Linked DNA regions of Homo sapiens: all the other regions are linked to region 1. The links are contacts of gene promoters, found by promoter capture Hi-C in human tissues and cell types (Jung and others, 2019). All regions are on one chromosome and are shown on one strand. The core of a region is centred on a gene start or on the middle of the fragment in contact, and the rest is flanking DNA. Distances in the headings are between cores, read along the strand shown. Region 1 holds the start of MANBAL (mannosidase beta like). Region 2 overlaps TTI1 (TELO2 interacting protein 1). Region 3 holds the start of LOC124904896 (a long non-coding RNA gene).

Evidence for each region. The method cuts DNA at HindIII sites, captures the fragments that hold promoters and counts their contacts. A contact is called where the count stands out against the background at its distance.
Region 2: a fragment that was not itself captured here is called in contact with the fragment with the promoter of MANBAL in region 1 in 1 of the 25 tissues and cell types used here (lymphoblastoid cells).
Region 3: a contact is called between a fragment that was not itself captured here and the fragment with the promoter of MANBAL in region 1, in 1 of the 25 tissues and cell types used here (dorsolateral prefrontal cortex).

The regions. Positions count from the first base shown.
Region 1 is chr20:37,287,550-37,292,280 of GRCh38, forward strand. MANBAL (mannosidase beta like) reads left to right here and starts at 2,106. Exons shown (of 3, transcript NM_001003897.2): 1 at 2,106-2,137. RefSeq lists enhancers at 1,894-2,003, 2,076-2,980, 4,209-4,318. The HindIII fragment of the contact is 10,035 bases long and covers 1-4,731 here.
Region 2 is chr20:37,978,701-37,983,431 of GRCh38, forward strand. TTI1 (TELO2 interacting protein 1) reads right to left here. Exons shown (of 8, transcript NM_001303457.2): 8 at 4,321-4,731. Among named protein-coding and RNA genes, the nearest start is that of TTI1, 52 kb to the right of the region's middle. The HindIII fragment of the contact is 8,966 bases long and covers 1-4,731 here.
Region 3 is chr20:37,916,748-37,921,478 of GRCh38, forward strand. The region is part of intron 1 of VSTM2L (V-set and transmembrane domain containing 2 like); the gene reads left to right. LOC124904896 (a long non-coding RNA gene) reads right to left here and starts at 2,245. Exons shown (of 3, transcript XR_007067576.1): 1 at 1-2,245. RefSeq lists an enhancer at 480-981. The HindIII fragment of the contact is 6,050 bases long and covers 1-4,731 here.

The DNA.
Region 1 (4,731 bases), core at 856-3,355:
TCATGGACGTCTTCCCTCATCACCTCTCTTTTGATTGTATCTCCCATGTTATTGCTTCTCTCATGGCTCCCCCTTCTTCCTTCCCAACACATCTCATGGTTTTTAAGTGTACATTTATCTGTGTGATTGATTAGTGGGGGTGACAGACATTGACCCCTAGTCTATAAGCACAGTCAGGGTAGGATCCCACCTACTCACCATTGTCTTCCCAGTTTCATAGTGCATGATCCAGAGTAGAAACTCCATAAATATTTTTTAAATGAATAAATTATGCATTTTGGGTCCCCCATGCCACCTCACATAGTATGGGATTAGTGAATGTTGAGTGTATTATTTGTCTTCTAAGAGACTGAATTCCTTTAGGGCAAGATAGGTCTCTCTCTCTCTCTTTTTTTTTTTTGGAGTCTCTGGTATCTAACCTCTGTTCCTTGATCCTCTATGTATGTTATCTAGGCTGCATAACCAATTATCCTAAAACTTAGGAGCTTAAAACAATAACATTTAGTATTTCACAATTTCTGTGAGGCAGGCATTCAAGTGGCATTGCAAGGTATTTCTGGCTCAAGGTTGCTCTTGAGTTTACACTGAAGATTTTGGCCAGGCCACAGTCATTTGAAAGCTTGACTAGGACTGCTGGAGCCACTTGGCTCATACACATGGCTGGCAAGTTGGAGCTGGTTGTTGGCAGGCAGCTCAGTTACTCCCCATGCGAGCCTCTCCATAGGACTGCTTGAGTGTCTTCACAACATGGATTCCCCATGAGCAATCAAGACAGAGGAAAGAGGAAGTTGCAATGTCTTTTATGACTTTATCTTGGAACTCGTGCTCCAAGATTTCCGCAATATCCTATGGGTTATACAGGTCAGTCTTATTCTTGGTGGGAGGTGACTACAGAGGGGTATGGATATCAGGAGCCAAGAATCGTCAGGGTTTATGGTGGAGGCTGGTTATCACACTCTCATCTAGGTTTCTTTTTCTCCTACTACTTGCCCCCCACCCCTTCTTAATCATGGAACACTGTTCTTTGCCTTCAAAAAACTTATCCTGTTATATGATTACACATTCATTTAATTAGTCTGTCTCCCTCCAACGGACTGTAAGCACCACAAGGGCAGAGACTGTATGTGTCTGCTTTAGCACTGTGTCCTCAGTTACAAGGACAAAGCATAGAGTACGCGCTCAGTGAATGCTTTTTGAATGAATTATAATGATTTGCTTCTGTCTGAATTACAAGAGGTGTTTCTGTTTGTCTCCTCTCTGCATTGTAGGCTCCTAGCTCAGGACCTGGCATAAAATTAAGGAAATGAACGTGAGAAACACTTTTGAAATAGTGACAACACATCCAGATGAACATTTTGCAGGACAGCTACACACCCGTTTTAGCTCACCAGCTACCAGTTGTGACTGTGCTCTGCTCTGGGAGATGGCTTAGCTTTGCATAGGACAAAATTCTAATCTAGTTTCGCGCAGTTCTTACGAATTTGTTACAATGAGACGGGCCAAGCTATACAGCCCATTGCGATGAATAAGTAACTTTTTTTTTTTTTTTTTTTTTTTTTTGAGGAAGAGTCTCATTCTGTCGCCCAGGCTGGAGTGCAGTGGCGCGATCTCGGCTCACTGCAACTTCTGCCTCCCGGGATTCAAGAGATTCTCTTGCCTCAGCCTCCCAAGCAGCTGGGATTACAGGCGCCCGCCACCACGCCCGGCTAATTTTTGTATTTTTGGTAGAGACGGGGTTTCACCATGTTGACCAGGCTGGTCTCGAACTCCTGACCTCAAGTGATCCGTCCGCCTCGGCCTCCCAAAGTGCTGGGATTACAGGCGTGAGCCACCGTGCCCAGCCCCGAGAAGTAATTTCTTTTGTTTTCTTTTTAATTAAACAAAAATGTTGCTGAAACGAGCTGAGTGATATAGGAGCTTAAAGAATTGACAAGCTCTAGATTTCATTTCCCCAAACCTCTTTGTCCAGCTCGAACCCACAGAACAGGGACAAAAGTCGACAAAACCCAGCGGTGCCTCACCCAGAAACCTGGCAACGCGGGCGGAACAGAGCCGGTTGGTTGCTCAGTGCGCGTCACTTCCGGGACTCAGGGTCGCAGGGAACTACTTCCGGGGGAGCGGCGCGGCGGCGCGGGAGGTGAGTGCCGCAGCTTTGCGGTGGGGTGGGAACCGAGAGAGAGCCGTCCTCGGTGCGGTGGCCTGGCTTTCCCGGCCGGCCTGTCTCCAGCGGCGCCGCTTGGTGGGCCCGGCTGTCGCTCCGCTCAGGGCCTGAATACGTTCCCTCGGCGGTTGTTCGAAAGTTACTTCCGGAGGGGAATTTGAGCCCCCCGGGAGGCGGAGGGCCTCGCCTGGGGCAGCCCTGCGCTTTCGTGCGGAGGCTGGGCCAGAACCCAGGGCTCCTCATGGCCTGGTCCGGGCCTTTCCTCCCACGGGTGGAGCAGTAGGAGAACCCTGAGCTCCAGAGTGAATCTGGCCAGGGTTCGAATCCGTATGGCTCTCTTACCGTGGGCAAGTCACGGTTCCTCTCTGGCCCTCAGTTTCGTCTTCTAAAATGGACATACACGCTTGTACTGCGGGGTAAACCGAGGTGGTGAATGTAAAGCCCTTAGTAGGTGCACAGTCCATGTTTGTTGTACGAATTCTAAGAGAAGCGAGAAATGAATATGAGAAACATTTTTAAAATGGTGACAACACATTTAGATTAATAATTATATTTTGCAGGGCATCTGCACACCAGTTTCAGCCCACCGGCTACCAGTGTGACTTTGCCCAGAGAGGTGGCTTAGCTTTGCATTCTAATCTAGTTTTGCGTGGTTCTTAGGAATTTGTTTTAATGGGACGGGCCAGGCTGTACAACCCATTGCCATAAAGCGGTAACTTCTTTTTCTTTCCTTTTTTTTTTTTTAAAGCCATTCTATTTATTTATTTAGAGACGGAGTCTCTCTCTCGTCCACGCTGAAGGGCAGTGGCGGGATCTTGGCTCACTGCAACCTCCGCTTCTTGGGTTCAAGCGATTCTCCTGCCTCAGCTTTCCGAATAGCTGGGATTACAGACGTGTGCCACCACGCCCGGCTAATTTTTGTATCTTTAGTAAAGACAGGGTTTCACCATGTTGGCCAGGCTGGTCTCAAACTCCCGACCTCAGGTGATCCACCCGCCTCGGCCTCCCAGAGTGTTGGGATTATAGGCGGGAGCCACCACACCCGGCTTTTTTTTCTTTTTAATTAAAAAAAAGTTGAAATAGAGATGGAGTCTCACTATGTTTTCCTGCCTGGTCTTGAACTCCTGGAGGCAAGATATCCTTCCTCCTGGACCTCCCAAAGTGTTTGGGATTACTGGCAAGAGCCACTGTGCCTGGCCTAAAACAGTAACTTCTGACACTGGTTTCTATTCCCCAGTCTGTTTTCAGCTGAATTTTCACAATAGAATTTAAAGTTACTTCATTAGAAGCCAAGAATGGCCTACCAGCACAGTACACAACATTGGGAGATGAAGGCCTGTGGCAGTCGTGAAATCTGAGTTTTTCAGTCTTAAGAGAAGATTTAGTATTTGCTAAGTCTTGAGAGCTATACTTGTCTCAGTGGTTTTTTATTTATTTGTTTTGAAATGTTGACCCATTCTTTTTTTCCCCAATAACCTTTTTGTTTTAGAATAATTTTAGATTTACAAAGTTATCGCAAAGATACTTCAGTGAGTGCCCATATAGCCCACGTTTCCCCTATTACTAATATCTGAAATGTCACAATTACTGAACCAATATTGATACATTATTATTAACTCTAATCTGTACTTTATTCACATTTCCTTAGTTTTTCCCTAATGTCCTTTTTCTGTCCTGGTATTATCCAGGGCACCCTATTACATTTAGTCATCATATCTCTTTAGGCTCATCATCTCTGTGATCGTTTCTCAGACTTCCCTTGTTTTAGATGAACTTGAGGGTTTTGAAGATAGTACTGACTGGTCAGATATTTTGCAGAAGGACCTTTAATTAGGATTTGCCTGTTTTTGACATGAGTAAGATCAGGGTAATGGGTTTTTGGGGAGGAGGACCACTGATAGGGTTCGGCTGTGTCCCCACCCAAATCTCATCTTGAATTGTAGCTCCCATAATCCCCCCATGTTGTGGGAGGGTCCTGGTGGGAGACAATTGAATCATGGGGGTGGGTCTTTCCCATGCTATTCTCCTGATAGTGAATAAGTCTCAGGAGATCTGATGGTTTTATAAAGGGCAGTTCCCCTGCACACACTCTCTTGCCTGCTGTCACATAAGACATGCCCTTGCCTCCCCTTTGCCTTTTGCCGTGATTGTGAGGCCTACCCACCCATGTGGAACCGTGAGTCCGTTAAACCTCTTTTTCTTTATTAATTACCCAGTCTCGGGTATTTCTTCAAAGTGGTATGAAAATGGACTAATCCAACCACAGAAGTAAAGTGCTATTCTCATCACATCATATCAAGGGTACATACTATCGATATGAGTTATCATTGTTGACATCTGTTAGCTTGAGCCACCTGGCTTGAGGTAGTAGTCAGGCTTTTCCAGTGTAGAGTTACTTTTCCTCCTGCACTTTCCGCACTGTACTTTTGGAGAAAGTCATTATGTACAGCACACATTTAAGGAGTGTGGAATTATGCCCCATGCTTAAAGGCAGAGTATATAATGCAAATTATTTGGAGTTCTCTGTGGGAAATTTGTCTGTTCCCCTATTTTTTGCTTACAGAGTCATA
Region 2 (4,731 bases), core at 705-3,204, 690 kb after region 1:
CTGATTGCTTGAGTCCAGGAGTTTGAAACCAGCCTGGTTCGCAATACAGCAAAATCCTATCTTTACTAAAAATACAAAAAATTAGCCAGGCATGGGGGTGTGCGCCTGTAAACCCAGATTACTTGGGAGGCTGAGGTGGGAGAATCATCTGAGCCAGAGAGATTGAGGCTGCAGGGAGCTGAGATCATACCACTGTACTCCAGCCTGTGCTACCAGAGTAAGACCCTGTTTCAACAACAACAGCAACAACAACAACAACAACAACAACAACAACAAGATTGTAAGAAAAAAAAAGTCAAAGAAGATGCCACAGAGACCTTTATGTATGGCCTGTAAACCCTAATAGATTCACTCTGGCCCTTTACAGAGAAAGTTGCTGACACCCGTTGTAGATGGACCAAGTTTGGTTTGGGGCTGGGCAAAGCACCGGCTGAGCCAATGAGAGCAAATCCTAGGATTTAGGCTGAGGTGGGAGGATCTCTTGAGCTCGGGAGTTCCAGGTCAGCTTGGGCAACAGTGCAAGACCCCATCTCTAAAAATCCAACCCAATCCTAGGCCTTTGGCTAGAGCTGTTAGGAGGTGCACATTCACTTGGGTGTGTGATGCTGAAGGAACAGGAGCCTGGAGTCAGAGTGAAGCCACCACTGGGGAAAGCAGCATCAGAAGACAGACAGGCTGGGGGAGCTGTGCCTGCGGGGCCTCTTCGTTCTGTGTGCCAAGGTATTTTTTTTTTTGCTCAAGCCAATTTTGAATTGGGTCTCCTGTCACTCCCAACCGAGTTATGATGTGTACAGATACTGGCAGGTATGCCCACAGCTCTTTGGGCATGTGATTTTTCCTGTCTGGAATGCCCATTATTCTGTCTGCTGAAATCTACTTGTCCACTAGGACGTCACCTCCTCCTAGAAGCCTTCTTTGATTCTCTCACCCTACCGTGGTTCTATTTTAGTTTCTGGGTGGTACATGCTGAGACCTAACCATCTACTTCCTCGGCTGTAACCGTCAAGAGGAGTGTGTATTGCAGCCATAACAAAGCCATGGGCAGCGGGGGAAAGATGTTGCTGGAGCCCCAGGCACAGTGTCAGATGCTTTAGAAACACTACCGCATCCATCCCCTCTGATGCAGCTGCCTGAAGAGGCAGTGGCAACAGCTCTAATTCAGAGATGGGAAAATGCAGCTCGGAAGTAAAATGACTTGCCCAAGGTCACACGGTTACAGAGAGGCGGAGTCAGAAATGAAGCCCAGCGCTGAGGAACTCCAAATCATCCATGCTCCTTCCACAACACAGTGCCTTCTGAAGACCACAGCCACCCCCCTCCAGCCATCTCCAAGGATCCCCTGGGTCCAGGTCTATACTTTCCTGCATCCTCCAGGAGCCTTCTACAGCCTGCAGATCACGGCTCAAACATCTCAAGCTGAAATTCAAGGCCTTGCAGTATCTACTTATTCATTCTATACCAACCCCTAACCCCAGCCCAAACAATACTTGAAGTGCTGGTGCGCCCTGAGTGAAATAAGAAACCCCTATTACTCCACAAGTTTTAACAGGGGGAATGGAGTATTTTGCAAAGCTTATGTTAACAAGGACTAGACTGAGTCAGCTGGACAGGTTCAAAATTAAAGTTGCCTGAATATAATCATAACTGGAGATGCACTCTAATGAGATTTTTTTTTTTTTTAAATCAAGTGCAACAATCTGCCTGCAAGAATCTGAAAGCAACTCAAGATAGCTTAACTCTTTGAGGAAGAAGTGGGTTTTCGGAGAGCCATGGTGTATCCTCTTATGCTGATTATCTCCTGGAGAGCTTTCGCAGAGTCCAAGTTTTTATCAGGATGCGTGTGCACATCTTCCTGGCCTCTCAGGACAGCATCGCGGCTTGCCACACCCAGATGCTCTGCGAAGGCAGGCTACTTTAATCTCACCGGGAGAGCTAAGTAATGCTCAGCAAGTCATGCCACCTCCCTGACCTGTTTTCTCATTTGTCAGAATCTGGAGACTGAATTAGCCTATCACTTTGGGTCCCCAGTGGAATTAGGAACAATGCTGTGAATGCTTTTACCATCTCCGTAATTAGAGGCATTTCCCTCCCTTTTTCCAAAGGAAATCATCCCAGAATTTTAAAGCTCAAAGAGAGTTAAGTGATTATCTTGCTCTTTGAGGGGGTTCTTAACTTGGGGTCCTTGCGGGGTCACAGGTGAAGCCTCTGGAATTGTACATGGAATCTTGTGAGGTCAGTGAAGCATCCTCAGCAGATGAGATAGTGCCCACTGCAGTCTTGGAGGATGCAGTGCCCTCCTGGGGGTAACAAGGGAGGAGCGGGAGCAAGTTTCTGGGGAGTGGGTCCCCACAATCCCAACAGATGAAGAGCTCCCCCTCTGGTCCAATCCCTCCACTTTACAGGCTGCAGAACTGAAAAAAGCCCCAAGAGAAGGATTCCCTGAGGGCTCAGGAGCCAGACAGAGCCAGGCTGCCGCCACCGAGACTGGAGCTGGACATAACTCGGCCCTTGCAGGGCGGAGTGGAGAAGGAATTGAGTGGGGCCTCTCCAGAGCTGGCTGGGGACCCTCACACCAATATGTCCCCATGCCAGGCACCCTCTGGGCTTTTTAAGAGTTTGGGGATTATCTATGTCACCGGAATTGTGATCTAGCCGGTGCCTCACCATGCACCTGTGAGGAAGCATTCATCATCCCTGGGATCCTTCAGCATACATGGGAGCCCTGGGGTGGGATGTGCACCTCAATTTACATAATCTGTGTGTTTTAAATTTCTCAGCTAGAAAAAAATCGAGTATTTATCTTGCCTTTTCTTTTCTTTTTTTTTTTCTTTTTGAGACGAAGTATTGCTCTGTCGTCCAGGCTGGAGTGCAATGGCGCGATCTCTGCTCACTGCAACCTCCGCCTTCCCTGGTTCATGCCATTCTCCTCCTCAGCCTCCCGAGTAGCCGGGATTACAGGCAGGTGCCATCTTGCCTTTTCCATACAAACTGTACCGGTAGGTTACCAGATGGTTGATGAAGGGAAGGTTCCCCTTACACAAGGACTCTGGTTAACAGCAAGCCAGCATGGCAGAATTAGAACAGCATTACTCTGCAATCCCTAATGAGTGTGTGGATTCCAGTGAGATCACCATGGTTGCTAATAACACAGTAAGATCAGACTTACATACCTCCTGATGGAAGTACGTAACACCACCTATGGAGGAGAAGTGCCAAAAACAAAGCTAAGAGACTCAATCCTGATCACGACTCTTACTCTGCCTCCCAATGGCCAGGAAACACAGGTGAGAGGAGGGGCCCAAGAAATGACCTCCATAGGGATGCAATCAATAAATCCAGACGGTGGGAAATGCTGTAGGAAAAATGACCGTGTTTCTCCACCAAAAAACTTACAAGGAAAATGAGAGAGAGGTGGAGGGGGAAATCTACACATTAAAAGAGATTTATTTTTTATTTTAGAGATGGAGTTTCGCTCTTGTTGTCCAGGTTGGAGTGCAATGGCGCAATCCTGGCTCACCACAACCTCCATCTCCTGGGTTCAAGTGATTCTCCTGCCTCAGCCTCCTGAGTAGCTGGGATTACAGGCATACACCACCACGCCCAGCTAATTTTGTATTTTTAGTAGAGACGGGGTTTTTCCATGTTGGTCAGGCTGGTCTCGAACTCCTGACCTCAGGTAATCCGCCCACCTCGGCCTCCCAAAGTGCTGGGATTACAGGCATGAGCCACTGCACCCGGCCTAAAAGAGATTTATTAGGGAATATACTGATACCAGCAATGTATATCACTTATTTGGATCCTGATCCAAACACACTGGGGAAATTTAGACACTGAAAATATCTGACAATATTAAAGGATCATTGTTAATTTGGTTAGGTGTGATAATGGTATTGTGGTTGTACGTTTAAAAAAAGTTTCAATGTAACATCTGGGATTTGCTTCAAAAAAATCCGGGGTGTGGAGAGAGAGGTACATGGGTGGGGCACAGAGGAAGCAAGCCTGGCCACATGCTGACTGCCAGGGAAGCCAGGTTCATGGGGACATGGGAATTTACACTATTACCCATAGTAAAATGTTAAAAAAAATTAACCTCCTGCTTGAAAAGTAACCAAAACATTGTTACGAGTGGTTGCCTTTGGAGAGAGAAACCTGACGGCTGGGAAATGGGGAGGGGGAGATTTACTCTTCATTGTTTTCTGTTTTGTACTGCTTGGATTTGGATTTTATACCATGGTTCTATATTAACCATTCAAGAATATAAACTCATTTTAAAAAAACCACCCAGTTTAAATAAAAAACTTCAAAGTGAGCTTTTGATCATACTTTTCATCCAAGAAGTGTCTTTATTTCCGTTTGTTTCCCAAAGATCAGGTTAGGTAAAACAAATTAGTTCCATCTCATTATTTGAAGACAGGGAGGTGTATGCAGATGGAGGGGAACTGACCTCTTGTGTGTGTGTGTGTGTGGCCTGTGAGGGAGCTGGGGCTATAGAGATGGTAGGCTAAGGGGTTAAACCCTTAGAGCCACCAGACAATGTCACTTGACAACACAAGGTATGAAACATAAATAATAGTCAGCTACTTTCCTTCAATCCATTTCTAAGCAGTTGTGTGATCGATCAATTTATAAATCGATTGGCTAACTAATTCACCTTCTCTGCTGCCGCTGCCACCGCCTATGGCCGGGGTGGGGTCAGCCCAGCTTCTGGCTGGCAGTAGGGGAGGGATCGGT
Region 3 (4,731 bases), core at 1,162-3,661, 630 kb after region 1:
GTAATGAATTACTGATGTGTGCGACAATGGTAGATGAACCTCAAAAACTCTATGCTAGATGAAGGAAGCCAGTCACAAAAGACCACATATTATATGATGCAGATGATATGAAATATCCGGAGTAGGCAAATGTGAGAATGCAGATTTGAGGTTGCCAGGGGTTAGGGGAGAGTGGGGAGTGAGGAGTTTCCTTCTGGGGGGAAGACAGCATGTTGGGACTAGTTGCATCACATTGTGAATGCACTAGATGCGACTCAATTGTCCACTTTAAAGTGGTTAATTTTGGCCAGGTGCGGTGGCTCACACCTGTAATCCCAGCACTTCTGGAGGCCAAGACGGGCGGATCACGAGGTCAGGAGTTCAAGACCAGCCTGGCTAATGTAGTGAAAGCTTGTCTCTAGTAAAAATACAAAAAAATTAGTCAGGCGTGGTGGAGGCCGCCTGTAATCCCAGCTTCTTGGGAGGCTGAGGCAAGGAGAATTGCTTGAACCTGGGAGGCGGAGGTTGCAGTGAGCAAAGATCATGCCACTGCACTCCAACCTGGGCGACGGTGTGAGACTCTGTCTCAAAAAAGAAAGAAAAAAAGAAAAAAAAAATGTTAGCTATTTAAATTTTTACTAGGCAGGGCGGCCCCTCCTCCATCGGCCAGAGACAGGCAAGGACCCACCTGGGTGAATGTGCTTGTGTCTAAGGCTCAGCAAGGAGTGGGTTCCACCAGGGAACAGCGGTTGTTGTGGACCTTCTGGGTGCTACACACTGAAACAGGCTCTTCACTTGCATTTGCCCATTTAATCCTCAAAATAAGCCTGTAATCAATGACACAGTGGGAAACCAGAGCTCAGAGTAGTGAAGCAGCTTGCACAATGCCACCCAGCACGCCAGGGAGAGCTGTGGCTTGCATCCTCACCGTAAATCCTGGGCTCCCCCTCGCCCTAGTGCCCGACCGTCCCCCTGGCCCCTTCCCCTGTTAGCCACCACACCAGCACTTCCTGTGGGTAGAGCACAGTCTGAGCTCTGCGGAGCCTGGGGTTGCGGAGAAGGAGGCTTTGGACTGGATGGGACAAGAGGCCGTTGATGGCGTGCGGCCCACGCAGGAGAGTAAACAGCTCTCACCAGGGGCAACATTTCTTTGATGTCTCCTATTTCATTCAAAATTTATGACTTCTATATTCTATCCCATAATATATTCATGTTTGTTTTAATACAAAAATAACGTTCTTGTCCCATGTTTCTGGAGTGAAGTCAATGCCTCAGGAAGTTGCTTTCCTGGTTTGAGCAGCACAGACCATAAAGGGGTCATCCATTCATTTCTTTGTTCATTCATTCTCCAAGTATGCAATTCAGGTATTTTCATTCCTTAAGTGGGTGTTAGTTCTCACTACGGGCAAGGATGCTGTCCCAAGAGCCACACTGGAAGAATCGGCAAGATTGGGATAGGGAAGTGGCAGGGAAGCTTTCCAGGTATGTGGCCCAGCAGGAGCAAGGCTTGGAGGTGGGAACTAGTGATGGGTTGTGAGATTGGGCCATGGCCATCGGAAGCCAGGGCTGGTGCTGGGTGCCCGCTGGTGTCCACACTTGAGCAGGACCTGCGTCCCAAGCCCCTTGTGATTAAGAAGAAAGTCTCTGCTGGTGCTTCTCTGACTTTAACACCTAACCTTCGCCAGTCTCCCTTGTTAATGAGAAAAAAACGGAGATTGAGGCTCATAGCCTTCAGCAGGCAAGCTTCTTTGGCTAGAATTTACGAATGCTGTTTGGTTTTCATAGCGTTTATTTTTACAGTTACCCTCTATTTATGGCAAGTGATGCTGATTTTTCATTTATGGCGGTAATAAAAGTCTTCTTTTAACCTGAATTTATTTAAGTAAAAGGGGAAAGATGCTTTGAAAATAAATATTAAGTAAATAATGGTGCATGTGGTACAGGGACCCTGTGGAAATGGTGATGGCAGCTAAAAGGCTGGGCTTGGGAGACCCCTCTCTGGTATGCCCTTTTCTGTTCTGAGTCCCCTCTGACTGTGCAAACCTCAGTCAGCCTTCAGGTCCAAGCAAGTCCCCTTCTCCTGGTAACCTCCCCTGACTCTCCAGGCAGACACGAGCCTATCTTTCTCCTAGGATCTTCTAGAACCTGCACCTCCTTCCATAGCTCCAACATGCAGTTTGCCCTGCATAACCCTGGGCAGCACTATGATTCATGGCCATATGAACAGTGCACATTCTGAACAACTGTACATGGCAGTCCAGGTTCAATCCCAGCCATTGTTCCTATAGCAGTCTCTGGCATGTGTGTCTCTCCTGGGGACTGCAGGCTCCCTGAGGGCAGGGGCCTGATCTGTGGCATCCTGGGAAGCCTGGCACGGGGCCTGGCTTAGGGTAGGGGGTCCATCAGAGCTGATCTCTTCCATTCCTTTTGAGGGAGGACTTAAGCTCCTACTGCACGCTGAGGCAGACACCTCCCACCAAGGCATGCTGCAGTTCCCTAAGCTTTCTTACAAAATGCCTTCTTCTTGGCTTCTTAGGAAGAAAGCCCATCTGCGTTTGTTTGCCTGTCCCAAGGTGAAGCAACCTTCATGAACTCACACCTCCATTCCTCCTGCCGCAGGCACCTGTCAGGGGCCAAGGGCTACCCAGAAAGAAACAAAGAGAACCCTCGGGTGCCTCCCTGGGGAGGAGAGGGCCCTGGACACAGCCAGGCTTCTCTGTTTCTGGAGGGCTTTTCCATCCTGATTATCTGGGTTTTCTTCTTATGGGGATTTTATGTCTCCTGATTTTAGAAGCCAGCTGAGATTTACAGGCGGTTGGGCTGGGACCTCATTAAATCCTCCCTCTCCAGCCCTTTCCCCGGGAGAGCTCTTACTCTGCTTCCCAGCTGGGAGGCAAGGTGGCCACAGGCCTTCCTGAACCTGGAGCACACACACCCTTGTGGCCTTGCCACCCAGCTGAGCTGGGCATAGAGCAGGCTTCCTGGAAATGGCCCCAGAGAATCACACTTTTTCTAGCTGAAAAGGATGGGGCTTAGATAAGATTTAGGCTTCAGTGGGGGAAATTTTGCAGCCAGCTTGAAGTCAGGCTGAACTCTAACTTGTCCCTTGATGCTGTGTGATCTCAGGCACCGACTCTCCCTCTCTGAGCCTTGGCACTTCCTCTGTGAAATGGGGCTGATAATAGTACCATCTCATCAAGTCTGAGAGGATGAAAGGGGTCCTGTGTACAGTGTCTGGCATAGAGGAGGGGCTTCCTTCCTTCAACCCCGGGGCAGGAGACTGGCTCCAATGGCCCCCAGGTTCTCTGAGCTTTGGTTTTCTCACGCTGCTGGAAAAGGGCCAGGTATGGAAGTGGGCAGTGGCTGCAGAGGCTGTCGATGCCCCCTTACTCTGTCTTCATCACTGCAACAACGGAGCCAGCAGAAACAGGGAAGTGTTTGAATTCTAGAGTCCCAAGGTCTGGGTTTGAATCCCAGCTCCTGCTCCTGACTTGCAGTGTGACCTTGTGACACATGTCCCTGAGCCTCAGTTTCCCTGCCTGGAATAAAGGGACAATGATCCCTGCCCAGCAGGATCACTGTGAGCATCATATGGGATCAGGCACATCACCTTCCTGTTGCATCGTGGGCTCCAATCAGAAAGATGATGCCACGGGGCTGCTGGGCTGGCCCGTAGCCAACAAGGGTTGGGGAGCTACTGGCGAAGCAGCCACCCACTCCTGGCACTGTCAGCCTTTATTTATTGCCCTGTTTCATTCTTGGTTGCGTTTCACAAGATGACTTTATGGGCCATCTCAGGGGGAGCCTCCAGCCTGCCTGTCAGTCTGGCTGGGTGGCCCCTCAGCTGGGCCAGGTGGGCCAGGCTGGCCTTGGGCAGCCAGTGGCCACAAGGGCCAGGAGGAGAGGGACAGTGGGGAGGAGGCCGGCCTGCCAAGCCTCACTTAGGACCTCCCTGCTTATGCATGTCCATAGTGTCCACATGTCTGTCCCTATCCCTGCTCCTGTGGGCACAGTCCCCCCAGGAAACTCCAATCTGGCACATAGTAGGCATCCAATAAATGTTGAGTGAATGAATGAACTGGATGAATGAATGAATGATTTCTATGCCTATTGGTTTTTTCCTTAGAACTTCAATCCTCTGGGCTTTTGTCTGACCTTCCTTTCTCCCTTGATTGATTGATTGATTGATTGATTCATTCATTCATTCATTCACTCATGTGTTTAGTACATGCCTAGCCACCTCCTGTGTGCCTGATCTGGGCTGGGCAATGCAGGGTCCCTGACCTGGGAGAGTTCCCAGCTTGCAGGAGACCCAGACACCTGTCATATAACATCTGTCATATAACACACTCCAGATGTCATATAACACACTCAGCATCTGTCATGTAACACACTCCAGGGCAGGGAGAGGCAGCCTCGGAGACCTCTGGGGGCACCAAGCAGGGCTTCCACCCTAGCCTGAGGAGGGAGAGTACCTTTAGGCAGAGGACTACCTGTGAGTCAGGATTCCAGGGACAGTGTGCAGGCTGTGTCCTTAGGGGGACACATGTAAGTGGCCAGGAGGGGCTGCAGTTGGGGTCTGGGCAGAACCAGAGCCTGCAGACTTTGGATGCCGAGCCTGGGAGCCTGATTTTGACCCTGAGGGCTGGTAGTTTCCCAATGAGGCCCAAGTACGGGAGCTTCCTGAAGGCCCCAGGCAGCCCGGAGTAGGGAAAATGGGATCCTTCCCCTGCCTGCCACCAGAGCTGCTAG